Regions from separate parts of the Homo sapiens genome. Here regions 1, 2, 3, 4, 5 and 6 are each linked to region 7. The links are contacts of gene promoters, found by promoter capture Hi-C in blood cells and fetal thymus (Javierre and others, 2016). All regions are on one chromosome and are shown on one strand. Each heading gives the region's core, a stretch centred on a gene start or on the middle of the fragment in contact. The rest is flanking DNA. Distances are from core to core; before and after follow the strand shown. Region 1 overlaps CORO7-PAM16 (CORO7-PAM16 readthrough). Region 2 overlaps HMOX2 (heme oxygenase 2). Region 3 overlaps HMOX2 (heme oxygenase 2). Region 4 holds the start of ALG1 (ALG1 chitobiosyldiphosphodolichol beta-mannosyltransferase). Region 5 holds the start of TFAP4 (transcription factor AP-4). Region 6 overlaps DNAJA3 (DnaJ heat shock protein family (Hsp40) member A3). Region 7 holds the start of ZNF500 (zinc finger protein 500).

Region 1 (3,795 bases), core at 1-2,500, 420 kb before region 7:
AACCTTTACTTTACCAACGGGGAAACAGATCTGTCCTAATTCTCCCAAGTCCGAAGACTTTAAGTCCATTCCATTCAATAAAACAAACTTACTATGCAAACCTGTTTCCATCTTCAAGGAGCTAAAAGCCCACTAGGAGGGTATTTAAACACACTATGGACCAAATCATGAGGGAGAGTCAGGCTCGTTCATTTGTGCAGCCATTGGTTCACCCATTCATTCAAACATCTGCTGAGAGTCTACTCTGCTCAGCACTTGAGCACAAAGCTACACAGAACCTGGTCCCTGCCCCGAGTCAGAGCACACTGCTGGCCTGGCAGGGAACCCCACTGTCACACACCAGGCTGAACATGCCGGAACACTGCACGTGTGATTCCATGCCCCGCAGAGGCCCTGGGGACTCACTAAGATGTGAGCGGAAGCAACAGAGTCGAGGGAAAACTCAAGACTGAGATGGGATTCGGTGAGAGGAGGGGGTTCTGTGTGAGAGGAGGGCGTTCCGTGAGAGGAGGGGGTTCCGTGAGAGGAGGGGGTTCCGTGAGAGGAGGGGGTTCTGTGAGAGGAGGGGGTTCTGTGTGAGAGGAGGGGGTTCTGTGAGAGGAGGGGGTTCCGTGAGAGGAGGGGGTTCTGTGTGAGAAGAGGGGGTTCTGTGTGAGAGGAGGGGGTTCTGTGTGAGAGGAGGGGGTTCTGTGAGAGGAGGGGACTGTGTGACAGGAGGGGGTTCTCTGAGAGGAGGGGACTGTGTGAGAGGAGGGGGTTCTGTGAGAGGAGGGGGTTCTGTGAGAGGAGGGGGTTCTGTGAGAGAAGGGGACTGTGTGAGAGGAGGGGGTTCCGTGAGAGGAGGGGGTTCTGTGAGAGGAGGGGGTTCCGTGAGAGGAGGGGATTGTGTGAGGGGGGGTTCTGTGAGAGGAGGGGGTTCCGTGAGAGGAGGGGGTTCCGTGAGAGGAGGGGGTTCTGTGAGAGGAGGGGGTTCCGTGAGAGAAGGGGGTTCCGTGAGAGGAGGGGGTTCCGTGAGAGGAGGGGGTTCTGTGAGAGGAGGGGGTTCCGTGAGAGGAGGGGGTTCTGTGAGAGGAGGGGATTGTGTGAGAGGAGGGGATTGTGTGAGAGGAGGGGGTTCTGTGAGAGGAGGGGGTTCCGTGAGAGGAGGGGGTTCCTCCTGGGCTGGGCTTTGCAGGGTAGGAAGAATCATGATGGAAATACTAGGGCTTTCTAGGCAGAGGGACTGGGTTGAGCCAAAACTGGCAGGAGAGAAGGCAGAAGGGAGTTCCTGCGAGCAGCCAATAGCCTAGGCTGGCCTGGGAAAGACTGGGAATCTGGCGGATGACATGGAAAGATGCACAGATCTTTGTGAAACAAAGCGATTATATATAGACAGCACATACAAAGGATCTTGTGACTGCAAAGCCGTAGACGCAGGGGGGTGGCGCGGGCTGGAGGCAGCTCGGCATAGGTTGAAAGCTCATGTGGCACAGCCGAGTGACTTTCCCTTTCTTCCTAGTGCTTTTCTGTAGATTTGCCTTCAGTCAACAAGTATCAACTGAGTCCACACACCAGGCACGGTGCCAAACACGTTCAATTCATTGTGCCGTTTAATTCTGACAACTCAGGGGTGGGGGACTGCTGACTGGCCCGAGGACGTAACAGCAGGTGCCTCGGAGGCAGATCGGAAACCCAAGGCTGGTGCTATCTGTCACAGCAGTCACTACGCAGGGTCCCGGGGTCTGAAGGTAGGGCACCTGGGCAAGCCGACAAGTATCAAGAACCCAACCCCGAGGCCAGAGGGGCTTGCTCCAGATTCCAGTGGATTCGACTCCAGAGCTGGCCTTGTTCAGCCTCCGAGGACCTGCTCTTTCCTTAACAGGTGGGATGTCATTATGGGCCATTAGGGGAATGAACAAACAAGTGGGTTAAGATTTCAAAAGTAGGTGGAAACTTCATAACTTCTGGATTTCACAGCAGAAAGAGCCCAGAGAAGACCCTCCTGTGATCACAGCGAGGGGCAGGGCTGTGGCTGTACTGCAGATGAGGGAGGGTCAGGGATGCACCTGATGACACCTGCGGTCTCACCTGACTTCGCCTCCTTCCTAAAGCCCCTCCCGAGTGGAACAGGAGGCTCAGGGATGGGATGCTGGTGCTGTCTGAAGGACAGAGGTGAAAGTCAGAGGGTCCCCTCGGCTTGAAACACGGCTCAGGTCTCAGACTACCCCTCACACCAACAGCCTTCGGTCCCTCTGCTGCCATCGTACAGCCTTGCAATCACTTGTTTACTTTTCTGCCAAGGCCAATGACTGTTGCAAAATAATGAACGGTAAGAGCTGAGGTCATAACTGGGGAGCTTCCCCGACCATCCCCTGCACACTTCAAACCAAAGCGGCGTGGTGGCCTGTGGCTTCAGCTGCCTAGAGCTGCAGGGCAGAGGGGGGCTGGCCTGCAAAGTTTCAGCAGACTGGACGGCCCATTGAGGCCAGCAAGGTTCCTATAGGAGGCATCTCTGAGAAGACGCAGTGTAGTGTAATGGTTACACCTGCAGGCTTTGGGATCACCTGTGTGCAAAAATCCCAGCTATCTGACATAGACACGTTCTCAACTCCTTTGAGCAACCCAGTTTGCTTACCTGTAAAATGTGGCCACCAATAAAGCTGAGATAATGCCTGTCAAATGCCTGGCACACAGCCTAATGGTACAGCAGGTGCTCAATAAACATTGGTTTTCATTCATTACTACTGTTTCACAAAATCTGACAATGACCAGGCACTATGAAGTAACAAAGCTTCTTTCAAAATAGCAGCTCATTTGATACAGGCCCTTTGCTTCCTCAGGGGTGAAGGCTGCAAAACACCATACTACATTCCCTCAGGGAGCTGGGAAGCAGCAAGGAAGCAGAACGAGAACCACGTTGACCTGGGACCAGAACCCTAGCTTTCTTTCTCAATAGCTGTGTGACCCTGGACAAATTACTCAACCTCTCTGAATCTTTTTTTGTTTTGGTTTGGGTCTTTTATTTTTTATTTATTTTTTTGAGACTGACTCTCGCTCTGTCACCCAGGCTAGAGTGCAGTGGTTCAATCTCGGCTCATTGCAACCTCCACCTCACCAGTTCAAACGATCCTCCTGCCTCACCCTCCCAAGTAACTGGGATTACAGGTGAACACAACCAAGCCTAGCTAATTTTGTATTTTTAATAGAGACGAGGTTTCACCATGTTGGTCAGGCTGGTCTCAAACTCCTGACCTCAGGTGATCCACCCGCCTCGGCCTCCCAAAGTGCTGGGATTACAGGCATGAGACACCACACCTGGCCTTTTTTTTGGAAGCAGAGTCTAACTCTGTCGTCCAGGCTGGAGTGCAGTGGTGCAATCATGGCTCACTTGCAGCCTCAGCCTCCCAGCCTCAAGAGATTCTCCTGCTTAAGCCTCCCGAGTAGCTGGAGCTACTTGTACTCAGCCTCCGAGGACCTGCTCTTTCCTTAACAGGCGGGATGTGATATGGGCCATTAGGGGAATGAACAAACACAAGTGGGTTAGGATTTCACAAGTAGGTGGAAATTTCATAACTTCTGGAGGCTGAGCACACGCCACCACATTTGGCTAAATGTACTTTTCTGGAGAGATGGGGTTTCGCCATGTTGCCCAGGCTGGTCTTGAACTCCTAGGTTCGCATGAACTGCCCTCCTCGGCTTCCCAAAGTGCTAGGATTACAGGTGTGAGCTACTGTGCCCAGCCTACCTCAGTTTTCTTAACTGCAAGATGGAGAGAATAACACCCTCCTCACAAGAGGACAGTAAGGCCCTCAGGAG
Region 2 (3,921 bases), core at 1,309-3,808, 270 kb before region 7:
CACTTATTTCTCAGAAATAATAGAATCTTGCTCACTTTTCTTTCTTTTTTTTTTTTTTTTTAGATGGAGTCTCGCTCTGTTGCCCAGGCTGGAGTGCAGTGGATCAGTCTAGCTCATTGCAGCCTCCACCTCCTGGGTTCAAGAGATTCTCCTGCCTCAGCCTCCTGTGTAGCTGGGATTACAGGTGTGCGCCACCACGCCTGGCTAATAATTCTATTTTTAGTAGAGTTGGGGTCTCACCATGTTGGCCAGGCTGCTCTCGAACTCCTGACCTCAAGTGATCTGCCCGCCTCGGCCTCCCAAAGAGCTGGGATTATAGGTGTGAGTCACCATGCCTGGCCTCTTGCTCACTTTTCATACTAAAACAACAAATTACAGGCTGTAGTTTAACCTCTCTACTGCATGCATAAATGCAGTGTGGTACGAGTGCCTCTGTAGCCCATAACTTCAGTTTCCTTGTTGCTAGCAGTCTGTGGTGACACTATACTAATCTCACATGCAGGAACCAATGAGGATTAGCCAGGGACACAGGAGGAGTCACCTTGCATTCAGAATGACTCAAGTTTAGTCTCAACTTGACCATTAGCTCTCTGAGTGATCTTGCCCATGTTAATTCTCTTGATCTTAGTTTCTTCAGAGCCAGTGAGACATTGCTTGAAAGTGACTTAGCCTGGTATACCCAGGTCTGTCAGACTTATAGTCTGGTGCTCTCTTGGGTGAACTTGAGGGCCTTCTGCCAAGGCAGGAATGGCTTCTTTTAAAAAAAAATTATTTTATTATTATTTTTTTTTTTGTAGAGACGGGGGGTCTCACTATGTTTCCTAGGCTGGTCTCAAACTCCTGGACTCAAGTGATCCTTCAGCCTCGGCCTCCCAAAGTACAGAGATTATAGGTGTGAGCTACCAGTACCAGCCTCCAGGAATGGCTTCTAAGGCTTCAGGCTGTTTATAGAGAGGAAAGCACCTGGGAGCTGATGGCACTCTCAGGTTTCCCAAAATGACAGTTCTGCATATGCATCTTAATCACCTACTTTTTTTCCCTCCACCCCCAAATGCTATTCACAGTCCTTGTTTATGATAGAAGCTGAAGCTTACAGGTGACAATTTTTGTGCCTGTATGAAAGGAAACATGACTGACTCCACTTATCCACACGACACCTGCTTTCAAGGTTGTTCAGTGTTGGAATAATTTTTGCTTGATGGTAACCTAGGGATGACCCAAGGTTTCATTAGTTAAAGCCAGCCCTGTGGGATGCATGAAGTCTAGCCTCTGTCCCTGTAAAAATCCCACCAGAACCATTTTAGAATTCACTCAGGACTTCACCCCTCCCGCTCCTGGTGCTGCTTATGGAACTAAAGAATCCTCATCTTCTCAGCCCTGGGACACATTGTCCTCATATAAAGCGAGGTGGCAATCAGGGAACAGGGGCGAGTCTTGTGCTTATTTCAGTTATAATAGGAAGGCTCTACCAGGACTCATCATTGTCCCAACAATAGTCGATTCCAGGCCCCTTCTTTGAACTCATTTCAGTGTCTCAGGTTCTGTCCTTGGTGTCTGTCTTCACTGCTTGCTCAGTTGTATTTGAACATGGCTAGAGATGAGCACACTTCTCTTCTCCAGTAAAAAAGCCTGCAAGAAAAGTCTTGGACTTCTTGAACTGCTATTCAGTTGTCTTTTTTATTCAATGTATTTTTTGAGATGGAGGGGGTCTCACTTTGTTGCCCAGGATGGTGTTGAACTCCTGGCCACAAGTGATCCTTCTGCCTCAGAGTTCCAAAGTGCAGAGATTACAGGCTTGAGCTACCACAACCGGTCTCTTGTCAGTTTTTGAGGTTACTTAAGAGGTTAATGCCTTTAAATTAGTTTGCAGTTGTTTTGCTTTTGCCTGCCTTCTTGCCCAAATGCGCAAGTGCTTATTTAGTAATCTGACTCAAGTGCTTTGTGTCCCCAGAGTCCCCACTTTTCCAGGATTCATTGTCTTTTTTTTTTTTTTTTTTTTTTTGAGACACAGTCTTGCTCTGTTGTGCAGGCTGGAGCGCAGTGGCACTGTCGGCTCACTGCAACCTCCACCTCCTAGGTTCCAGAAATTCTCGTGCCTCAGCCTCCCAAGTATTTGGGATTAGAGTCACACACCACCACACCTGGCTAATTTTTTTATATTTTTAGTAGAGATGGGGTTTTGCCATGTTGGCCAGGCTGGTCTTGAATGCCTGACCTCAGGTGATCTACCCGCTCGGCCTCCCAAAGTGCTGGGATTACAGACATGAGCCACCACACCCGGCTGGATTCAGTCTTAACTTGCTCTTTTTTTTTTTTTGCATCTCACTCCCTTGCCAGGCTGGAGTGCAACGGTGTGATCATAGTTCACTGCATCCTTGAACTCCTGGGGTCAAAAGATCCTCTTGCCCCAGTTTCCCGAGTGGTTGGGACTACAGGTGTGTGTCACCACGCCTGGCTAATTATTTTATTTTTCGTAGAGACAAGGTCTGACTGTGTTGCCCAGGCTAGTCTTGAGCTCCTAGGCTTAGGTGATCCTCCCACCTTGGCCTCCCAAAGTGTCAGGATTATAGGTGTGAGCCACTGCACCCAGCCTGGATTTGCTCTTTTATCAAGAGGTTAATATTTATTCTTCCGTTCAGTGAACCGTGGGATTGAATTCCCCCAGCGATTGAAATGAAAGGGCTTATGTATAACATTTCCTGAGGAATGGTAGTACCAGAGTTCAGAGGAGACCTCAGGCCATTTATTCTATAAACTCAGAAGCTGTAGTTCTAGATGATGTGGCTTCTTCAGGGTGTTGAGAAGTCTCTGTTATCTCGTGCCTTGTTGGATTAGAACTGATTGAGCTCTGTCTGCTGCCCCAAACATGTGGCTCAGCCAATCTCCAGTGGCATCTGCAATGTGGGTATTCTAGCCTCCAGTGCTCACGTGGCTCACCTTAGAAAGGGCAGATATTCCTATTTCCTGACGCTGCTGGAGAATGAGGTCTGAGTCAGAAGTCCTCAGGTGTGACCTGCCCAGAACTATCTGAAATTGCTGGATTTCTTGTTCTTCCTCAGTGTTTAACAATCACCCAATTGCTCATTCTCACCAGCGACTTCCTCAGTAAGAGCTCAATATTTGAGGTGGTGCTGCATTTTGTCAAACATTCATGCGTGTTAGCCCACTTAGTCTTCGCAGCACACAGTGGATTAATGGATTTTTAAAAGCTGGTATTTATGCACGATGGAATACTACTCAACCATAAACAAGAAGGAAATTCTGTCATTTGTGACTACATGGATGCATCTAGAGGACATTATGCTAAGTGAAGTAAGCCAAAGAAAGAAAGACAAATGGTGCATGATATCACTTATATGTGAAATCTGAAAAAGTCAGTTATAGAAGGAGAGTGTAACATGTTGGTTACCAGCGGCTGGGGGAAGGGAAGGGTGGGTGTGGAAAGGGGAGATGTTGATCAAAGGGTACAAAATTTCAGTTAGGAGAAATAAGGTCTGATGATCTGCCTTACAGCATGGTGACTATAGTTAATATGGTTAATATTATAATAGTATTGTATACTTCAAAATTGGTAAAAGAGTGGATTTTAAAAGTTGTCACCACAAAGAAATGATAAGCATGTGAGCTGATGGATATGTTAATAACCCTGATTTAATTATTCCCCAATGTATACATGTGTCCAAACATCACACTGTACCCCATAAATATAATTGTCAGTTAAAAACTTAGGAGTCAAGTCAGATCTGAAGAGAAGTCAAAACAGATTTCATACAGTTAATTTAGAGACATGGGACCCAATTAAAAATTTGTATTACTTTACTTGGTATTTTAGAATTTAGCTGTTATTTTCTTGTTACACACACAGGCACAGGCACACAAATCCTCTATTTAACTGGCTTTCTCAGTAGGAACTCCATCTGT
Region 3 (4,115 bases), core at 1,112-3,611, 290 kb before region 7:
AACATGTTGAAGTGCTGTGAGTCACCAAAAGGGGGAACGTGAGCAACTCTAGAAATGCCAGTGCCAGTGAGTTACAGACAATAAAGCATTGACCGCCTTTAGCTCACCCCTCATCAAGTCTGTTGAAAACTTGTAAAATTGGACAGCTAGAGCTACCTTGATTTTTTGGTTTCCTTTTAACAGCTGACTCTCTTCACAGGACAGTTGGGCTCTACATCAGGATTGCACCCAAAACTGGAATATCACTCCTCCAGGAGGAAGATATATTTGAAAATTAGAATTGTGGGCCCGGTGCAGTGGCTCATGCTTGTGATCCCAGCACTTTGGGAGGCCGAGATGGGCGGATCACCTGAGGTCGGGAGATAGAGACCAGCCTGACCAACATGGAAAAACCCCATCTCTACTAAGAAAAAAATAATAATAATACAAAAATTAGCTGGGCATGGTGGTGTGTGCCTGTAATCCGAGCTACTTGGGAGGCCGAGGCAGGAGAATCACTTGAACCTGGGAGGCAGAGGTTGCGATGAGCCAAGATTGTGCCACTGCATTCCAGCCTGGGCAACAGGAGCAAAACTGCATCTCAAAAAAAAAAAAAAGAAAGAAAGAAAATTAGAATTGTGTATTTCACTGTAAAATTTGAAATTCAGCTTTAACTCCTTGGAAAGGAAAGAGATGAAAAACTTGACCTAGACTGGGTGCGGTGGCTCACGCCTGTAATCCCAGCACTTTGGGAGACCAAGGCGGGTGGATCACCTGAGGTCAGGAGTTCGAGACCAGCCTGGCTAACATTGTGAAACCCCGTCTCTACTAAAAATACAAAAATTAGCCTTGCAAAAAGTAGCCTGTAATCCCAGCTACTCGGGAGGCTGAGCAAGGAGAATTGCTTGAACCTGGGAGGCAGAGGTTTCAGTGAGCCAAGATCATGCCATTGCACTCCAGCCTGGGCGACAAGAGCAAAACTTCATCTCAAAGAAAAAAAAATTCTATCAGAGTGAACAATAAGTAGGATGCTAGCACATACCTGTAATCTCAGCTACTTGGGAGGCTGAGGCAGGAAGTTAATACTTGATGAGCCTAAGTTTTTGGTGTCTTTGGATGCTGCTTGTCGATCTAAGGGGTTTCCAAACGCTTCTTTTTTGGTAAAATTGGGATTATGACTAGGAATCTGTTTTTTGGAGTTTCCCAGGTGATCCTTGTTTGGGGTCCTTGTCTAAGGCACAGGCTGGAAAGAGGAGGGAGTGGACTGGCAGGGAAGATAGAGCAGTAAGCGAATAGAATACCTGGGGAAAGGGACGCCAGAAGAGTGATTGTTGTCTGGTGAACTGTGCTGTCAGTGTGTATGTCAGAAGCCAACAAAGTGGATATTCTCTTCACTCAGCTTAGGGAAAAAATTAATTTTTGTTTCACAGATAGATTCGTTTCCTTCCCAGGAGTATTATAGGCCTAATTACTGTCATAGTTCTCAGTAACTTTAAAAAGGCTGTGGGGAAGAATGGCATAACAGACTAGTATCTTGTACCCAGCCTGCCTTTTTCTTATTCTATTTTTTTTTTTTTTTTTTTTTTTTTTTTTTTTGAGACAGTCTTGCTCTGTCACCCAGGCTGGAGTGTGGTGGCACAATCTCAGCTCACTGCAACCTCCGCCTCCTGGGTTCAAGCGATTCTCCAGCCTCAGTCTCCTGAGTAGCTGGGATTACAGGCGTATGCCACCATGCCTGGCTAATTTTTGTATTTTTAGTAGAGATGAGGTTTCACTATGTTGGCCGGGCTGGTCTCCTACTCCTGACCTCAGGTGATCCGTCCACCTTGGCCTCCCAAAGTGCTGGGGTTATAGGCATGAGTCGCTGCGCCCGGCTTTTTTATTTTTTATTTTTTATTTTTTTGAAACAGAGTCTGGCTCTTTCACCCAGGCTGGAGTACAGTGATCTGATCTGAGCTCACTGCAATCTCTGCCTCTGGGGTTCAAGCAGTTCTCCTGCCTCAGCCTTCCAAGTAACTGGGACTACAGGCATGCACCACCATGCCTGGCTAATTTTTGTACTTTTGGTAGAGATGGGGTTTCGCCATGTTGGCCACGCTGGTCTCCAGCTCCTGACCTCAAGCGAACCACCCTCCTTGGCCTCCCAAAGTGCTAGTATTACAGGCGTGAGCCACAGCACCCGGCCTTTTTTTTTTTTTTTTCCTTAGAGTCTTGCTCTGTCACCAGGGCTGGAGTGCAGTGGCGCCGTCTCGGCTCACTGCAACCTCTGCCTCCTGGGTTCAAGTGATTCTCCTTCCTCAGCCTCCCTAGTAGCTGGGATTACAGGTGTGTGCCACCACACCCAGTTAATTTTTGTATTTTTAGTAGAGACGGGGTTTCACCATGCTGGCCAGGCTGGTCTCAAACTCCTGACCTCAAGTGGTCCACCCACTTTGGCCTCCCAATTAGAATTAGAGGTGGAGCGACCGTGCCCGGCTAAGGGCCTACTATTTTTTTTTTTTTTTTTTGAGACAGAGTTTCACTCTTGTCACCCAGGCTGGAGTGCAGTGGTGTGACCTTGGTTCACTGCAACTTCCACCTCCCAGGTTTAAGCGATTCTCCTGCCTCAGCCTCTGGAGAAGCTGGGATTATAGGCGTCTGCCACCACGCCTGGCTAATTTTTTGTATTTTTAGTAGAGACGGGGTTTCACCATGTTAGTCAGGCTGGTCTCAAACTTCTGATGTCAGGTGATCCACCTACCTCGGCCTCCCAAAGCATTGGGATTACAGGCGTGAGCCACCGCGCCCGGCCAGGCCTCGTATTTTTGCTTTTGCTCATGTTTTCATGTCTGAGATAGAGGGCCTACTATTAAAGCACTGTGCTGAGGCTGCAAGAAGGTACTAGTGTGATTAAAACAATCTGGTCCGGGCGCGGTGGCTCGCACCTGTAATCCCAGCACTTTGGGAGGCGGAGGCGGGCGGATCACGAGGTCAGGAGATCGAGACCATGCTGGCTAACACGGTGAAACCCCGTCTCTACTAAAAAATACAAAAAAAATTAGCCGGGCATGGTGGCGGGCGCCTGTAGTCCCGGCTACTCGGGAGGCTGAGGCAGGAGAATGGCGGGAACCCGGGAGGCGGAGCTTGCAGTAAGCAGAGATCGCGCCACTGCGCTCCAGCCTGGGAGACAGAGCGAGACTCCGTCTCAAAAAAAAAAAAAAAAAGAAAAAAATAAAACAATCTGGCATTATAATGCCATCCTGATTTTAGTTAATCTAGTTGACTGGCTGGCCTCATAAGTAGCTGTGATGATCATAATTTTTATGCGAAACACCTGTCATTGAGCATACAGGTGTACTGAAAGAATTGGGTGGAACAGGGTATTTGAAATCAGAATTGTTCTGGAAAGTCGGGTACATAAAGCTCTATCTTTAGCACAGTTGTCTGTATTGCACAATTAATATTTATAGAATGGTACACCTTATGTTATCTTTTTATTTTTCCACCTAACTCTCTCTCTAGATTGAAAGGTACTTGACGTGCAGAGCAAGATCTTATCTTTCTTTGTAGTCACAGTACTCAAGAGGGTGATAAATGTTTGTTGATGATAATGTAATGTCACCTGTCCAAGTGTAGCCATCATCTTCAGTAGTTACTTGATCTGCTGTTGTGTCTGGCAAGACTGCTATGTGCTGCTGCAGAGGAGCCATTGTCACCTTGAACTATCTCTGTGGCAGTCTGGAGGAGGGCAGGAGGGAGAAGGGAAGGAATAAATGAGCAAAGCTGAGTGTGGATAGTAGTGTTTGACGGCAGATGAAAAAGCAAACTTGGTGAAGTGTGGCCTGGGTGGTCATCTAACTTCTACCTAGAAGACATTAAACCTTTACTCTCTTCTTTTTATGTAGGAAGGCAGAGGGAAAGTCAGGCCTTCGGTTGGCTTGGTAATAGCAGGTATCCCAGTAATTAGAAAATAACTTAAAAAACTCCATTCCTCTACCATATACTTGAGAATTTGTCAATCTCAGCAAAATTTTCAAATGTCTGTGTTCAGTGTCATATTTGTCCTGCTCTGTAAGACTTTTTGTGTTTATAAAAAGGCAAGTGGACCCAGAAGGGGAAAAATATGCTGTTCTGAGAAACTAGCTGCTGTAGGTTAT
Region 4 (3,650 bases), core at 1,144-3,643, 300 kb after region 7:
TCCCTGGGCTCAGGTGATCTTCCCACCTCAGTCTCCCGAGTAGCTGGGACTATAGGCACACGCCACCACCATTTTTTGGGTATTCTTTGTAGAGATGGGGTTTCACTATGGTGCCCAGGCTGGTCTTGAACTCCTGGGCTCAAGTGATCCTTCCGCCTCAGCGTCCCAAAGTGCTGGGATTACAGGCATGAGCCACTGCTTTCAGCCTTCATAAAATTTTAATACTGCAGATATACTGCATGCTTGTGTATTGTATCATTATCTGTGCTTTATACATAAAAAGGGTAAGGATGTTTTGCTCCCCAAGAGCCATTTTTGCCCCCTTGGGAGCACCACTGGGAACAGAGGTTCTAGGGGAAGCTTGTCATTGTCATTACTTCTGTTAATCCTTGATCACCCCTCAAGTGGGTGCTCAGTCAACTTGAACAAAATCTGAGGCTCCAAGGGAGATTGAGTGACTTATCCATATATCCTCTTGATTGTTGGAAAGACTGGATCTCATGTGGAATGGATGCCAAGTGAGAAAGCCGGACAGGTGGGCTGGCCCAGCTATGAAACCGCCCCCCTGCTGGGGATGGCTCCGTCCCCTCTCTCCAGGAGACACCACGGCAACTCCCTCCCCGACGGAGGTTCACCTACCAGAGGGAGGCATCTACTTTTGGTTTGTCATCACCATAGTCTTTATCCTCTTAGCTCATCAGAGCAGGACAGGCTCTCAAAGACTTGAAGTTCCCCTCCCTTAATTCACAGACGAAGAAAGCAAATTGATGGGGAGTGACTCGCCCGAGGTGGAGCAGGAAAGCCAGGAGTCCTGAGGCTGAGGTCCCAGATCCCTACCTGTCCCATTACAGAGCGTCGACAGAGTTGGGCAGGCGATGTGTCACAGGCCTCCACCCCAGCACACGCAACCTGGAGGCAGGGGCCTCGCTGGGAACTGGAGGATAAATGCCGCTGCCAGCATGTTTGTATGCCCATCCCTGCTGTCTGCAGATACTTACTCGTCCTTCCTTTCCTTCTGAAAGCTCGGGTTTCAAGGTCTGGCTTAAGGCGTGAGCTGTCCCTTCTGAATCCATAGAAAGGGAGTGATGGGGCAATTGTGAAAAGCAGATGCAAAGTGTGCCAAGCCCTGAGCTGAGCCCAGGGACACTGGGGAGCCACATCCATGTGGGCTACCCTGTCCCGTGGGTGCTGCCTGTGGTCCTCATCAGGGGAGGAGTCTTGTTTGTTTGTTGAATACGGTCTGGGTGGTGGCTCTCCAGGTTCTGCGGCAGCTCCCAAGTGGAGGCAATGGGGTAGCATCACCAGTGAGCTCTTGGTGTTTCTCTGCAAGGGACCGCTTTCAAAGAAAAAAGGTCATGATACGGTTTGGCTGTGTCCCCACCCAAATCTCATCTTGAATTCCCATGTGTTGTGTGGAAGGGACCCAGTGGGAGGTAACTGAATCATGGGGTCAGGTGTTTCCCGTGCCGTTCTCGTGATAGTGAATAAGCCTCACGAGACCTGATTGTTTTATAAAAAGGAGTTTTCCTGCAGAAGCTCTCTTTTTGCCTGCTGCCATCTATGTAAGAGGTGACTTGCTCCTCCTTGCCTTCTGCCATGATGGTGAGGCCTTCCCAGCCATGTGGACCTGTAAGTCCATGAAACCTCTTTCTTATGTAAAGTGCTCAGTCTCGGGTATGTCTTTATCAGCAGCATGAAAACGGACTAATACAGGCCATCGCAGAGACACACATTAAACTCTCACTATGGCTACTTTGGGAGGTGAAATTGGAGGGTCACTGTGGAAATTTCCTTTCTAGCCATTGATACTTAAGCAAAATCATGATGGTGTTTACTTCCTTGTTTGTCCTTCCCCCTCTCTACCTTTTAAATGTTTTATTAAGTGTGATGTACACCCTGGAAAATGGGCAGGTAATCTGCTGCTTGAGGTACCGCCCCAAATGCAGCACACCCACATTACCAGCACCAGATCCAGAAGCAGAACCCACCAGCCCCTAACTTCTAACAGCGAGGACTGGTTTTTATTTACATAGACGGAACTCTACAATTCGTACTCGTCAGCATCTGGCTCCTTTATCAATGTTAGGATGAAATTTATCCAAATTCTTGTGTCACTATATTTTGAAATTATCTTTGAATCCTGAAGAGAGTTCTTAGATCCCAATACAGTAACAGCTTTACTTTAGTCGGGGAAATACACTGGTGTGTAGGGAATCTGGTGTATGTGCGTGTGTCCTACTACTACTAATTCTTGGCCCCGAGGGGCTCCTGGGGGTTCCCCGGGCCCCTGTTAGGGAACCGCGTCCACTTCTCGCCCTCTCGGCCCACTTCGGAGGCTCGGTCTGCGGCTGCGCACAGCGCGAGGAAGCGCGGTCACGTGACTGCTGCGGGCCAGCCAAGATGGCGGCCTCATGCTTGGTCCTGCTGGCGCTGTGTCTGCTGCTGCCGCTGCTGCTGCTGGGAGGATGGAAGCGCTGGCGCCGGGGGCGGGCGGCCCGGCATGTAGTAGCGGTGGTGCTGGGCGACGTGGGCCGCAGCCCCCGTATGCAGTACCACGCGCTGTCGTTGGCCATGCACGGCTTCTCGGTGACCCTCCTGGGGTTCTGCAGTGAGTGGCCAAGGGTCTGGGAGGGACGATGCTCTCTCAGCCGTTGATCCTCGGTTCTAACCGCCCCGGGGAGTCGAGGCGGAAGTGCTCCTTTAGTCGCCGCCTTTGGGCAGCTCTCCGAGATTAGACGAGCGGTTCTGCCCCAGCCTTTCCTGGGTGGGTCTCTAGGTATAGCCGGCGTTAATCTTGCCACGTGTCAGAAGTGTGTTAAGTGAATCCATTGCGTGGTCTCACGTAATTCTCCTAGTAAGTGGAACCCAGGTGCGTGGAACTCCAGGGCTAGTGCTGGTAGCTACGTCCCTGTGCAGCTACCCTTGTCAGGCTATGTCTGAGCTGACAGGATATTTCATTCCTCATCCCTCAACGCAGAGCTCTGCAGACAGATGTTTTCATTTGTTCTTCATGTCCAGCTTTTCCCCACAGTGTGCAGGGCAGCGGTGTCTGCTCCCTCATTATTCTCCACGTTGGTATCTTGAGAGGGTAGCTCAACCCCATCTCAGGAAGAAGTGGGAACAGCACTAGTTGCCTTTAATCCCTGTTTAGAATCTGCTATCCTAGGGTGATGGGGTAGAGTGGGACTTCCTAGGGATGGCTCTGTGGTGGGAAAATTCCACTATCCAGACAATCTAGATTAGTTTAATTGAGCACCTACTGTTTGCCAGGCATCATGTTAAGTGAAGGTAGGTAAGATTCAGGCCCTATCTCTGTGTGCCTCCTAGAGCAATCTGAACAAGAATTGGCCGCATTCTCTGTTCTGGCTAGTGAGGAGCAGAGAGAGGTTTTGAAATATCTTACTTTCCAAAACACTGTCCGTGATTCAGCCTGAGTTGGGAGATTATCTGACTTTAGATTGCTGCTTCTGGTACATTAAAGGGATCATTCTCATTTTTCAGACTCCAAACCCCATGATGAGCTCTTGCAGAACAACAGAATTCAGATTGTGGGGTTGACAGAACTTCAGAGTCTTGCAGGTAGGATGCCGTCAACTCCAGAATCCTCTGAATCCATGGGCTGGGGGCAGGGGGTGTTCGTTTGAAAAGCC
Region 5 (4,026 bases), core at 755-3,254, 490 kb before region 7:
GTGAGTCCCCAGAACATAAAAAGAGCTCAAGAATTTTTTTTACTTATTATTACTGGGCCCTCCAGGTGGGCCTCGTGCAAGGGCCAGCCCTCGGGGCATCCCTGCCAGCTGCCAAACCCATCAACTGGCCCAAGTCTAGGTATTGACTGGGAACTTCAGAGTAGCCTTAAGGTGGGGACCCCCGGGGCAGAGGGTTGGGCAGGAGTGTCTACACGTGTGCAGCAACCTTCCCTCCAGGCCGGATTCTGCAGGCGCTAGCGTCCACCAGCCTGTGCCACACCGGCGGGCTCCTCCTCCCTCAATCCCCGCCCAGACTGCCTCGGGCGGCAGAGCACGTGGCTCCAGCCCTGGGGAGCCATTTCGCTCCTGGAGCAGCGCGGCAGGAAAGGGGCCACAGGTCCCAAACTTGCGCACGCCGTAGAACGCCCACCTCCCCCACACCACGCCCAGGGGGTCGTTCAAAATGCAGATGTCCGGGCCCCAGCGATCAGAGTTCCAGGCATGTGCATTTTAAGAAGTGTGCGGGGTGGTTTGGCTGTGTGTGGTCCTTGAGTCCATCACCCTTTGGGTTTAGAGCAACCTAGGACCAAAGCTTGCAAAGTGGCTTCTGGGGAGGCCTGCGGACCTCGGGCCACCCACCCGGCTGGGGGACCCGACGCTTTCGGTTTACGGCAGGGGGGAGGGGCGTTGGATGGGAAAGTTTGCAGAGGAAACCCACGTGCGGCGGGAAGCTGCCCTGCGAGGCTAGGGGCGGCCTCAGGTGTCCCTTCCCCAAATGGCCTGCCCACCTGGCCTGCCTTGCCCATCGTGCCCGCGGGGGCCGAGCTTTGTGCAGGGAAAGCGTGGCCCAGGAGCGCCTACAAATCCCACAATGCTGCACCAGCAGGACACGGAGAACTACAGCTCCCGCGAGGCCGCGCGCAGAGGTCCGCCTACTCCAAGAGGGCTGCAGAGTCACGTCCAGGCCTCGCTAGTAAACAGCGCCCGGGCGCGGGCGGGCGAGCGAGCGGCAGCCAACGTGCCCCGGGCCGCGGCGCCCCTACCGGCCGCGCGGGCCCCTCGGGGTCCGCCCACCCCCAACACCCACACGCGAGCACGCCCCCGACCCCGCTGCAGCCCCGCTCTGCAAACACGCACAGTGCCCGGCTCCCCGCCCCCACCCCGCGCCGGGAGCCGCGGCATGGCTGCATTGTAGCCGCCCTAGCTACACCCCCACGCGCGCCCCGGGCCCCCAGACCCCCTTGGATGGGGACGACCTCAGATCCCGAGGAAGGAAGGAGAGGAAGGAAGCCGCCGCAGGAGGGGGAAAGAGGAAGCGCGGGGGGGAAGGCCACCAGCACCAAGCATGGCCGGGACTGCTGCAGAACCACGTGGGTCTGTTTGCAATTTACAAACGTCGCGACTCGCCCGCCTGCAGCGGACAAAAGTGGCCGGGGCCGCTTGGGGCCCCCATGCTCCAAGGAAGGAGGGTCCCGGGGCGGCGCGGACCCGGCGTGTGGGGCTGCAGCCGTCCCGGCAGCTAAGAAAGGCTAGCGGGGTCGGCGGCGCGGGCCATGCGTGCGCACACGCGCGCCCGCCCGGGCGGGCTGGCCGGGGGCTGCAGTGGTAGGAAGGGGGTGGGGGGAGGAGGAGTACACACCTACAGAGCCCTCCTATCACTTCTTTCTCTGTTTTCCTGAAATGTTGCAAAGAGGGCACCTTCTGAGTGGGCACCATGAAATACTCCATAGCGATCGGCCCCCCTCCTCTGCACGAGCCAGGTCCCGCGATCAGCCGGAGAATGCAAGATGGAAATCCGAATCAAAGGGCAGCGCCGGACGGAGGTGCAGAATCGGCCGGTCCCAGATGCTGGCGGCGGCGGCGGCGGCGAGGGGAGGGAGGCGGGCGGGAGGGGCGGGAGGGAGGTCTCTCCGGCCTGCCTCCCCGGGCGTGTGTATGTGTGTGTGTGTGTGTGTGTGTGTGTGTGTGTGTGTGTGTGTGTGTGTTTGCAGCTGATCAGATGTCTGTTTCAAGGCGGGAAACAGCTGGTGAAAACTCAGCACTCCCCCGGCCTCCTTCCGCGGAGTAAGGAATTGCATGTAAACAAAGGACTATTTGCAGCGCCCCCCGGGCGGCGCGAGGCCGGGGCGAGAGGGGCGCGGGCCCCCGGGGACCGGCTGCAACCGGGGTCTGCAGGCCTCTCGCGGGGCGCAGGGGGCCGGGGGCCGCGGGCGGGCTTGCGGGGCGCGGCGTGAATGGAGCGAGCTGCGGCCGAGCTACATGCGCCACTATGGGTGATGAGGTCCATCAGCTGACAGGTTGGCAAGCGTTGCAAAAAAAAAAAAAAAAAGGCCAGCCACCGCGCAGGGAGCCCAGCCCGTGCAGCCCGGAGTCCAGCAGCGACTGGCCCAGAGCAGGGTCCGCGCGCTCGGCCGGCCCGCAGGGAGGAGGGGGCGCGGCTGGGTCGGGCGTGCAGCGGCAGCAAGGAAGGCGGCCTGGGGTTCGCGCTTGGGGCTTCTGCTTTTTCACCATTGCAGCTGCACGGAGCGGAGCCTCTCCGGTGTGCTCCCTTCGAGCCGAGCCCAGGGCCCCCTGGAAACTTGCGTCACAGCCACCGCTTCCCACATGTAACTCGGGGCTGACTTCGGAGGCCGGCCAGCTTCCTCCCTCCCGCCTTGCTTAGCTGGCCGCACGGCCGGGACTCCGGATCCTGGGAATCTTGGACCCGGCGACGGGACGGCAAAGGGCGCCTCGGATGCTGGGGCCGCCCTAGGAAGCCGGGGGCCCCGGCAGGGAGGGGAGGGTGGAGGCGGGCCTGAACGGCAGCGGCCCCCGGGCGCAGGCTGCCAGCGCTGCGGGGAGGTCTGCTGGTTGCTGCCGGGTCCCCTGCTATTCCCCCAGACCCGCACTGTTCCCTCCGCGGGCTGAAGGCTGCAGCTTCCCATTCATAACAAAGCCCGTGTGGGACTTGCCCCTCCGCCAGGATGCGCTCCCCAAGAGGGGGTGACGACTTGGGGCAGGGACGGGGACCCTGGCGGCGAGCTTCCGTCCTCCGCTCGCACGCCGCACCTTCCGGCCCCAGGCCCTCCCCTGGCTCCTGGAGGGTTGGCTCCTGGCTCAGGAAGCCCACGCCTGCCTTGGAATGTCCTGGATCCTGCCCACCGCCTTCCAGGTTCCGCCTAAATCGCGCCTCCTAATTTGACTTATTCCTACTAGTAACAATAGTTACTGTTATTATTGGGAAATATTGTTATTAGATGTTGCCAGCACCCGGTGGATGCCGAGCAGTTTTGCTTACACGCTCTCCAATCCTTGAAGCAACCTGTTAGGCAGTTTCTCTAAGGAGAGATCCCAGACCACTTGACCAAAAAAAAGTCTCTGGAAGGCTTACTATGTTTCTACTTAAAAAAAAAAAAAAAAAAAAAAAACTTTCGGCTGGGCGCGTTGGCTCACGCCTGTAATCTCAGCACTTTGGGAGGCTGAGGCGGGTGGATCACCTGAGGTCGGGAGTTCGAGACCAGCCTGACCAACATGGAGAAACCCCGTCTCTACTAAAAATGCAAAATTAGCCGGGGGCCTGGTGGCACATGCCTGTAATCTCAGCTACTCGGGAGGCTGAAGCAGGAGAATCGCTTGAACCCGGGAGGTGGAGGTTGCAGTGAGCCAAGATCATGTCATTGCACTCCAGCCTGGGCAACAAGAGTGAAACTCCGTCTCAAAAAAAAAAAAAAAAAAAAACCTTTTTACTGTTTTTCAACAAATAGAGATAGGAGTCTCACTGTGTTGCCCAGCCTGGTCTTGAACTCCTGGGACTCAAGGAATCCTACCTCTACCTCCCAAATTGCTGGGATTACAAGCATGAGCCATGGATGGCCCTGGTGGGAAGCCTATTTTTAACTGCCCTTAGTGAGCAAGCTATTCTTTTTTTTGTTTTGTTTTGTTTTGTTTTTTAAGACGGAGTCTTGCTTTGTCACCCAGGCTAGAGTGCAGTGGCACGATCTCGGCTCACTGCAACCTCCGCCTCCTGGGTTCAAGTGATTCTTCTGC
Region 6 (4,058 bases), core at 1,419-3,918, 340 kb before region 7:
AATGTCACAAGGAGGTGGAGGCTTGATATCATTGCCTGAGATGACACTGAATTATACATTAAGCCTTGAAGTGCTTAGTCATGTTTTCTTTTCTTTTCTTTTCTTTTTTTTTTTGAAACTGAATCTTGCTCTGTTGCCCAGGCCGGAGTGCAGTGGCTCAATCTCGACTCACTGCAACCTCCGACTCCTGGGTTCAAGAGATTATCCTGCCTCAGCCTCCCCAGTAGCTGGAACTAGAGGCATGCGCCACCACGCCTGGCCAATTTTTGTATCTTTAATAGAGACGGGATTTCGCCATGTTGGCCAGGCTGGTCTCAAACTCCAGACCTCAGGTGATCCGCCTCCCCTTGGCTTCCCAAAGTGCTGGGATTACAGGCGTGAACCACCGTGCCCTGCTTAGCCTTCTTTTCTTATGCCGTGTGTTTTGTGCTGTGTGTTGTACGTACCTGAATTGTGCTAGTTTTGTGTCCTCTAGAATTTGTGCAAATGGTATTTAAGCTATCTATAAATTTATAAAGATTAATTAAAGGGCCCTGACAAGATAATTTATACCAACTAACTTCCTGTTGCAATCCAGTTTGTAATAGTTACATAGTAGACAATCATTAAAGTATCAGTAATTGTGGTTACTTCATGCAATGTAAAGAAAAGAGCCTGGGCTTCAGGGGTGAACTTCCCCAGCGTCTGTGAGCGGGGTGTATTATTTAACCCCTTCGAGCACCTGTCTGAAAATTCATTCATTCACAGGTGTTAATTGAGGCCAATTGTATGCCAGCCACTGTTCTGGGCACTGAGGAGATGGCAGAGAACAAAGAGATTGGATGTGTGTTTGGTTAAGAGAATGATTATTTATGTATTTAATTATTTTTTAAGACAGGGCCTCCTGTTGCCCAGACTGGTGCAGAGGCACAATTACAACTCAGTGCAACCTTGACCTCCCAGGTTCAATCGATCCTCCATCCTCAGCCTCCTGAGTAGCTGGGACTACAGGCATGCACCACCACACCCAGCTAGTTTTCTGTAGATGGGGTTTCACCATGTTACCCAGGCTGGGCTAAAGTGATTCCCTTGCTTCAGCTTCCCAAAGTGCTGGGGTTACAGGCATCAGCCACTGCACCTGGCCAACAGAATGAATTTTTTTTTTTTTTGAGACGGAGTCTCGCTGTGTTGCCCAGGCTGGAGTGCAGTGGCGCTATCTCAGCTCACTGCAAGCTCCGCCTCCCGGGTTCACGCCATTCTCCTGCCTCAGCCTTCTGAGTAGCTGGGACTACAGGCGCCCGCCACCACGCCCAGCTAATTTTTTGTATTTTTAGTAGAGACAGGGTTTCACCGTGTTAGCCAAGATGGTCTCGATCTCCTGAACTTGTGATCCACCCGCCTCAGCCTCCCAAAGTGCTGGAATTACAGGCTTGAGCCACCGCGACCGGCCTTATTTTTATTTTGAGATGGACTCTTGCTCTGTTGCCCAGGCCAAATTGCAGTGATGTGATCCTGGCTCACTTCAGCCTCCCAAGATGCTGGGCTTATAGGTGTGTGCCACCATGCCAGGCTAGATTTTTCAACATGAGCAAAAGTGGCCATTTTTAGAGCTTGCTAACATTTTCTAATGTCAAGGTTGTTTTAAATAGAATCTGGCTGCATCTTTTCATTCAAATATTAATCCTTAGGTGACTTGTTTTATTAAGCCAAATTTGTTCATGTTCCAGCTGTACAAATTTGGGAGCACTCGTTATTATTGTGTATGTGAAAGAGAGAAACAGGCACTAAACACTAAGCTTTGTGTGAAGCTGTGACTAAGGAACTGCGGTTAGCTGTCTTGTTCCCCAAGTGAGCTCATAACCTGCCATGGGCAAGTTTTATATCAGGTAGTGTACACAGGTGAGAGGTGGCATCCTTCAGGGTACGTGCTGTTTTCACAGATAGAGTCATCAACTGGTTGGGCGGGGTGGCTCACGACTGTAATTCCAGCGCTATGCTGGCGCTGAGGCAGGAGGATCACATGAGCCTAGCAGTTTGGGACCAGCCTGGGCAACATAGGCAGATCCCATCTCTACAAAAAGATTTTTTTTTTTTTTTTTTTTTTTTGAGACGGAGTCTCACTCTGTCGCCCAGGCTGGAGTGCAGTGGCACGATCTCGGCTCACTGCAAACTCCGCCTCCCGGGTTCAGGCCATTCTCCTGCCTCAGCCTCCCGAGTAGCTGGGACTACAGGCACCTGCAACCGCGCCCAGCTAATTTTTTGTATTTTTAGTAGAGATGGAGTTTCACTGTGTTAGCCAGGACGTCTCGATCTCCTGACCTCGTGATCCACCCGCCTCCGCCTCCCAAAGTGCTGGGATTACAGGTGTGAGCCACCGCGCCCGGCCAAGATTTTTTTTGTTTGTTTGTTTGAGACGGAGTCTTGCTCTGTAGCCAGGCTGGAGTGCAGTGGTGCGATCTCGGCTCACCATGATCTTGACTCACCGTGATCTCGGCTCACCGCATCCTCCGCTTCCTGGGTTCAAGTGATCCTCTTGCCTCAGTCTCCTGAGTAGCTGGGACTACAGGCACGTGCCACCACTCCCAGTTAATTTTTGTATTTTTAGCAGATACTGGATTTCACCATATTGGCCAGGATGGTCTCGATCTCTTTACCCATGATCTGTCCACCTCAGCCTCCTAAAGTGCTGGGATTACAGGTGTGAGTCACCGCGCCCGGCCTACAAAAAGATTTTTAAAAATTAGCTGACTGTGGCCGGACATGGTGGCTCACGCCTGTAATCCCAGCACTTTGGGAGGCCTATGCGGGCGGATCACCTGAAGTCAGGAGTTTGAGACCAGCCTGATCAACATGGAGAAACCCCGTCTCTACAAAAAATACAAAATTAGCCAGGCCTGGTGGCGCATGCCTGTAAACCCGGGTACTCGGGAGGCTGGGGCAGGAGAATTGCTTGAACGTGAAAGTCGGAGGTTGCCGTGAGCCGAGTTAGCGCCATTGCACTCCAGCCTGATCAACAAGAGCGAAACTGTGTCTCAAAAAAAAAAAAATTAGCCAACTATGGTGGCAACTGCCTGTACTCCCAGCTGCTTGGGAGGCTGAGGTGGGAGTTTCACTTGAGCCCAGAAGGTTGAGGCTGCAGTGAGCCATGATGATGCCACTGCACTCCAGCCTGGGCAACAGAGTATGACTCTTTCTCTACCAAAAAATTAATAAAGTCATCAACTGAGAAGCCATGTGGTGGCGAGCCTCTATAGTCCTAGCTACTCAGGAGGTTGAGGTGGGAGGATTGCTGGAGTCCAGGAATTTGAATTTGGCCTAGGCAACATAATGAGACCCCTGTCTCTTAAAAAAAAAAATTTTGAAAAGGTCATTAACTCAGCGTCCAAACACTAGTCTGTGATCTTGTCTCAAATCTAGTAGTAAGATGACATAACAACATTTTAGATGTGACTTTTCTTCCAAGCAGAAAGAAAGCAGTTGTTGGTGGCCAGGTATGGTGGCTCATGCCTGCAATCCCATTACTTTGGGAGGTGGGTTGATCGCCTGAGGTCAGGAGTTTGAGACCAGCCTGGCCAAGATGGCCAAAGCTTGTCTCTACTAAAAATAGAAAAAGTTGGTCAGGCGTGGTGGCGGGTTCCTGTAATCCCAGCTACTCGGGAGGCTGAGACAGGAGAATCGCTTGAACCCAGGAGGCAGAGGTTGCAGTGAGCCGAGATCGCGCCACTGCCCTCCAGCCTGGGCAACAAGAGCCAAACTCCCTGTCAAAAAAAAAAAAAAAGAAAGCAGTTGTTGGACAGTGGGTTGGCCATTCTTAGAACGACTTGGAGGCTTATTTTATTCTGGGTTGTTCTAAAAAGGACAGGACATTTACTGGTCATATGTGATAAAATAAATAGTCTATTAAATGAAATCTAATTATTGTTAATCATTGATGCCCTATGGATAATGTCAAAAGTCATCAGACTGGGGATGGTGGCTCATGCCTGTAACCCCAGCACTTTGGTAGGATGAGGCCGGCGGATCACTTGAGGTCAGGAGTTCGAGACCAGCCTGGCCAACATGGTGAAACTTCTTACCTA
Region 7 (3,679 bases), core at 1-2,500:
GGATCTCTTCCTGTTCCAGGTCCTGCTCCAAGGTTGGCAGGGGCTGGAGGCCAGGGACAGTGGCCATTGCTTCCGGTGGGCCTTGTTCCTTTTCAGGCCTTAGAGTTGAACCTGTCTCTCTCTATACCTCTGGCCAGACACAGGAAGAGAGTTTTTTTCAGGGCCCTGTGGAGAGACGATAAAACCATCTGAAGGGCAGCCCTGGGGCTGGATAAGCCCTTTGGCCTGGGAAGCCCCTGCCCTGGTTCCAAGGCCAGCTCACCCCACCATGGAAAAGGAAAAGGAAGTGGATGAATGTCATCTTTGTTATTAACCCCCTGTTAATTCCCGGGTAATTTACTGAAGGGCTCTGGGCTTTGCTTCCTCACTGGGCAAACAGAGATGATAACAGGACCTACACACACAGGTTGCTGACAGAACTAAAAGGGATGGCTGGGGGCAGTAGCTGACGCCTGTAATCCCCGCACTTTGGGAGGCAGAGGAGGGCAGATCACGTGAGTTCAGGAGTTGACCACCTGGTCAACGTGGTGGAACCCTGTCTCTACAAAAAATACAAAAATTAGCCCGACATGGTGGTAGCACATCTGTAATCCCAGCAACTCGGGAGGCTGAGACAGGAGAATCGCTTGAACCCGGGAGATGGAGGTTGCAGTGAACTGAGATAGCGCCACTGCACTCCAGCCTGGGCGACAGAGAGAGACTCAAACAAAAACAATCTAAAAGGGATGTTTGCGGTCAGAGCTCGAGAATCGTTATTTTCCATGATTAGAGTGGGTCCTATATGGAAGGGGTTCCTTTGGAAATCTGATGAAAAGTAGGGCCTTTCTGCAGACTCTGCCTCAACTTGATCCCCGGTGTCCAGGTCTGGCGAACCCTGAAGCCCCTACGCGGCCCCGTCAGGCACCCCCGCGTGGGTGGTCACGACAGCCCCCCAATTCCAGGGTCCTGGGAGAGCTGGGACCCCCAGGCCGGGCTGCTTTCCCGTCTCATCCCTCAGGTGGAGGGTGAGCGGTACCCGAGGCCGCGGCACAGACCCGGGTGCTGGCGCGGGCCGCGAAATCGAAGCTTCGGCCGGGACCCGCGTCCCCGCGCCCCCCGCACTCACTGGAAGCGCTGCCGGCCGTGGGCAGTTCGGGGCAGGACCGGAGCGGCGGGTCTCGGCGGGAGTAGGACTGCGGGCCTCAGGCTTGGCAGCCAGGGACGCCAGAGCCGGGGCCGAAGACCCTAAACCAGGGGTGCAAACCAGGCCGTGCGGGTGGGCCCGCAGGCGGCATTGTGGGTAACGTAGCCGTGGCACCATTGGCTAAGCCGGCCGTTGGGGGCGTGGCAACACGGCCGAGTGGGCGGGTCCGCGACGTGCACTGTGGTTAATGTGGTCCTCAAAGGCACGCATTGTGGGTAACGTAGTCCAGCACCTCGGTGACCGCGCGAGCGTGCGGCGACTCTGCAGCCTCTGGGCTACTTTCCCAGTCACTGTTCCACACCCGCTCCGCTCTCCTCTGGCCGCCTCCTCCATCTTTAAAGCCAGCAAAGTCGTCCGGGCACGGTGGCTCACACCTGTAATCCTAGCACTTTGGGAGGCCGACGCGGGCGGATCACCTGAGGTCGGGAGTTCGAGACCAGCCTGACTAACGTGGAGAAACCTGGGCGTGGTGGTTCATGCCTGTAATCCTAGCTACTCAGGAGGCTAAGGCGCAGGTTGCAGTGAGCCGACATCCTGCCATTGTCCTCCAGCCTGGGCAACAAGAGCGAAACTCCATCTCAAAAAATAAATAAATAAATAATAAATAAATAAAATAAATAAAGGCAGAAGTTGTTCAAGATAAAACTGGAAGAGATGCCAAGTGCTTGCGCCCACCCTCCCCCAAGAGGGCCCCCAACAACGTCCAACCCCAAATATCCCTTGTCCTGCCTGCTTCTTTCTGACAACATAATAATGGGCATCAATCTTTGTTGTTGTTGTTAGAGATGAAGTCCCACCATGGTGCCTAGGCTGGTCTCAAACTCCTGGGCCCAAGCAATCTTCCCGCCTCAGCTTCCCAAAGTGTCAGGATTACAGGTGTGCCCAGCCAGGTATCAATTCTTGTATGTATGTATTTATTTATTTAGAGACAGGGTCTCACTCTGTCGCCCAGGCTAGAGTGCAGTGGCTCGACCTTGGCTCACAGCAACCTCCGCCGCCCGGTTTTAAGCAATTCTCCTACCTAACCTCCCGAATAGTTGGGATTACAGGCACGAACCACCAGGTCCGGCTAATTTTTGTATTTTTAGTAGAGATGGGGTTTCCCCATGTTGCCCAGGCTGGTCTCCAACGGCCTCAAGCAATCCACCCACGTCAGCCTCCCAAAGTGCTGAGATTACAGGAGTAAGCCACCGCTCCCGGTCGCATCAATTCTTGAGCATCAAGCAAGCAAAACACATTTGTACTTCGTTTCTTCCTCATTTAGTAATAGAGGTACTATAACTAGACCTACCGGTTCAACAAAACAAAACAAAACCCTGAAGCTCTGAGAGTTTTAAGTATTGAACCCCCCAGAGAAGGTCAAACAGGAAGTACAGAAATGGGATTGGAACCCAAATCTTTGATTCCAGAACTTCAGCTCCTAACTACCAGGTTAACGTAGTTTGCCCCTAATCCTAACTTGGGCATCCTAAGGCCCGTCTCCTATGCTGGATTCTCGCTGCTTTTCCTCTTTGGTTGAACATGATCCGGAGTTTCCCTCTGCCTGGGGTGCCCAGGAAAGAGTCCCAGCACCGAGTTCGGGTGAGCAGCAACGCAGCATACACAGCAGGCGTACACTCAACGTACGCCCCGCCCCGCACAAGCTCCGCCCCGCATGCGCGCCCCGCCTCGCATCCCGGATCTACCCCCGGAATCTCGCGCGTCTTTCCCAAAGCATCGGCTAGGACTCAGCCCGCCGGAAACAAATTTGGGGACGCCGGATTCAGGAAGCTGGCAGGACTACATTTCCCAGAGCGCCCCGCGCCCTCCCCGGAGGCAGATTCCTGGGCGCTCTAGAGGGGGTGGGTTGGCGGCCTGGAGGGTCTCCTCAAGTGGCGGCACTGCCAGGGGCTCGGAGGAAGGGGCTGCAGTCTCCCGGTGGCAGCGTCCTTGTCGTCGAGACTGCGGGCGGTTCCCTTGCGCGCCCTGAACCTCAGTTTCCATATCTGTTAATGGGGGACATTAACCCTCAAGGTTGTAACTCATTCAAGACCATTCATCCAGGCATAATAAATGCATAAACGCTGCACGTTGAGTCCTCCCAACTGCCCCCTTAACTAGGCGCTCGGGTGATGGAGTGGTGGCAGGTGCCTGCTTTCATGGAGCTTGCCATGAGAGGCATACAGTGGACAAAATTACCATGAGAGGCATACAGTGGACAAAATTGCACGAAGAATTGTTTAATCACTTCTTTGGCAAATGTTAGCAAGCGGCGTAAAAGAGGGAACCTGATACCTTCAGGGTGGAAGTGACAGTTGAGCAGCCTAGGGTTAACCTGGGGAACCGGTGGGGAGGATTCCAGACAGCAGGAGTGAAAAGTGCAAAGGTCCTGGGGCCGGAGAGAACACGGTGCGTTTGAGGAACAGAATGGAGACCAGAGATTGGGAGATGTGGCTGGAGGGATGGGCAAGGCCTGACCATACTTGGAGACTCTGGTGAGGATTAAGGATTTTATCC

Evidence for each region. Contacts are between HindIII fragments. The CHiCAGO score rates a contact against its expected background, and 5 or more counts as called.
Region 1: a fragment that was not itself captured here is called in contact with the fragment with the promoter of ZNF500 in region 7 in 1 of 17 cell types (naive CD8 T cells); the score reaches 5.8 in naive CD8 T cells.
Region 2: a fragment that was not itself captured here is called in contact with the fragment with the promoter of ZNF500 in region 7 in 2 of 17 cell types (M1 macrophages and erythroblasts); the score reaches 5.3 in M1 macrophages.
Region 3: a contact is called between a fragment that was not itself captured here and the fragment with the promoter of ZNF500 in region 7, in 7 of 17 cell types (erythroblasts, neutrophils, monocytes and 4 more). The highest score is 8.7, in erythroblasts.
Region 4: a contact is called between the fragment with the promoter of ALG1 here and the fragment with the promoter of ZNF500 in region 7, in 1 of 17 cell types (activated CD4 T cells). The highest score is 5.6, in activated CD4 T cells.
Region 5: the fragment with the promoter of TFAP4 here is called in contact with the fragment with the promoter of ZNF500 in region 7 in 1 of 17 cell types (fetal thymus); the score reaches 5.9 in fetal thymus.
Region 6: a fragment that was not itself captured here is called in contact with the fragment with the promoter of ZNF500 in region 7 in 3 of 17 cell types (neutrophils, fetal thymus and monocytes); the score reaches 5.9 in neutrophils.

What each region holds. Positions count from the first base shown.
Region 1 is chr16:4,343,719-4,347,513 of GRCh38, forward strand. The region is part of intron 27 of CORO7-PAM16 (CORO7-PAM16 readthrough); the gene reads right to left. The region is part of intron 1 of PAM16 (presequence translocase associated motor 16); the gene reads right to left. Among named protein-coding and RNA genes, the nearest start is that of PAM16, 5.7 kb to the right of the region's middle. RefSeq lists a silencer at 1,216-1,416 and an enhancer at 3,631-3,795. The HindIII fragment of the contact is 3,035 bases long and covers 1-2,768 here.
Region 2 is chr16:4,496,083-4,500,003 of GRCh38, forward strand. The region is part of intron 1 of HMOX2 (heme oxygenase 2); the gene reads left to right. Among named protein-coding and RNA genes, the nearest start is that of HMOX2, 22 kb to the left of the region's middle. The HindIII fragment of the contact is 2,942 bases long and covers 1,088-3,921 here.
Region 3 is chr16:4,478,184-4,482,298 of GRCh38, forward strand. All of the region lies in intron 1 of HMOX2 (heme oxygenase 2), which reads left to right. LOC124903636 (a long non-coding RNA gene) reads right to left here. Exons shown (of 3, transcript XR_007064964.1): 2 at 3,581-3,696; 3 at 1,081-1,378. Among named protein-coding and RNA genes, the nearest start is that of HMOX2, 3.8 kb to the left of the region's middle. The HindIII fragment of the contact is 5,105 bases long and covers 1-4,115 here.
Region 4 is chr16:5,069,450-5,073,099 of GRCh38, forward strand. It overlaps ALG1 (ALG1 chitobiosyldiphosphodolichol beta-mannosyltransferase), which reads left to right and starts at 2,394. Exons shown (of 13, transcript NM_019109.5): 1 at 2,394-2,608; 2 at 3,502-3,579. The coding sequence starts at 2,401. RefSeq lists enhancers at 2,424-2,483, 2,514-2,623, 2,794-2,853. The HindIII fragment of the contact is 10,202 bases long and covers 359-3,650 here.
Region 5 is chr16:4,271,019-4,275,044 of GRCh38, forward strand. TFAP4 (transcription factor AP-4) reads right to left here and starts at 2,005. Exons shown (of 7, transcript NM_003223.3): 1 at 1,640-2,005. The coding sequence starts at 1,728. RefSeq lists enhancers at 222-1,198, 740-929, 1,830-1,879, 2,176-3,151 and silencers at 1,010-1,169, 1,530-1,579, 2,300-2,949. The HindIII fragment of the contact is 8,835 bases long and covers 591-4,026 here.
Region 6 is chr16:4,426,822-4,430,879 of GRCh38, forward strand. The region is part of intron 1 of DNAJA3 (DnaJ heat shock protein family (Hsp40) member A3); the gene reads left to right. Among named protein-coding and RNA genes, the nearest start is that of DNAJA3, 3.0 kb to the left of the region's middle. The HindIII fragment of the contact is 1,791 bases long and covers 1,774-3,564 here.
Region 7 is chr16:4,765,912-4,769,590 of GRCh38, forward strand. It overlaps ZNF500 (zinc finger protein 500), which reads right to left and starts at 1,251. Exons shown (of 6, transcript NM_021646.4): 1 at 1,106-1,251; 2 at 1-165. The coding sequence starts at 67. RefSeq lists a silencer at 998-1,297 and an enhancer at 2,490-2,569. The HindIII fragment of the contact is 2,671 bases long and covers 1,064-3,679 here.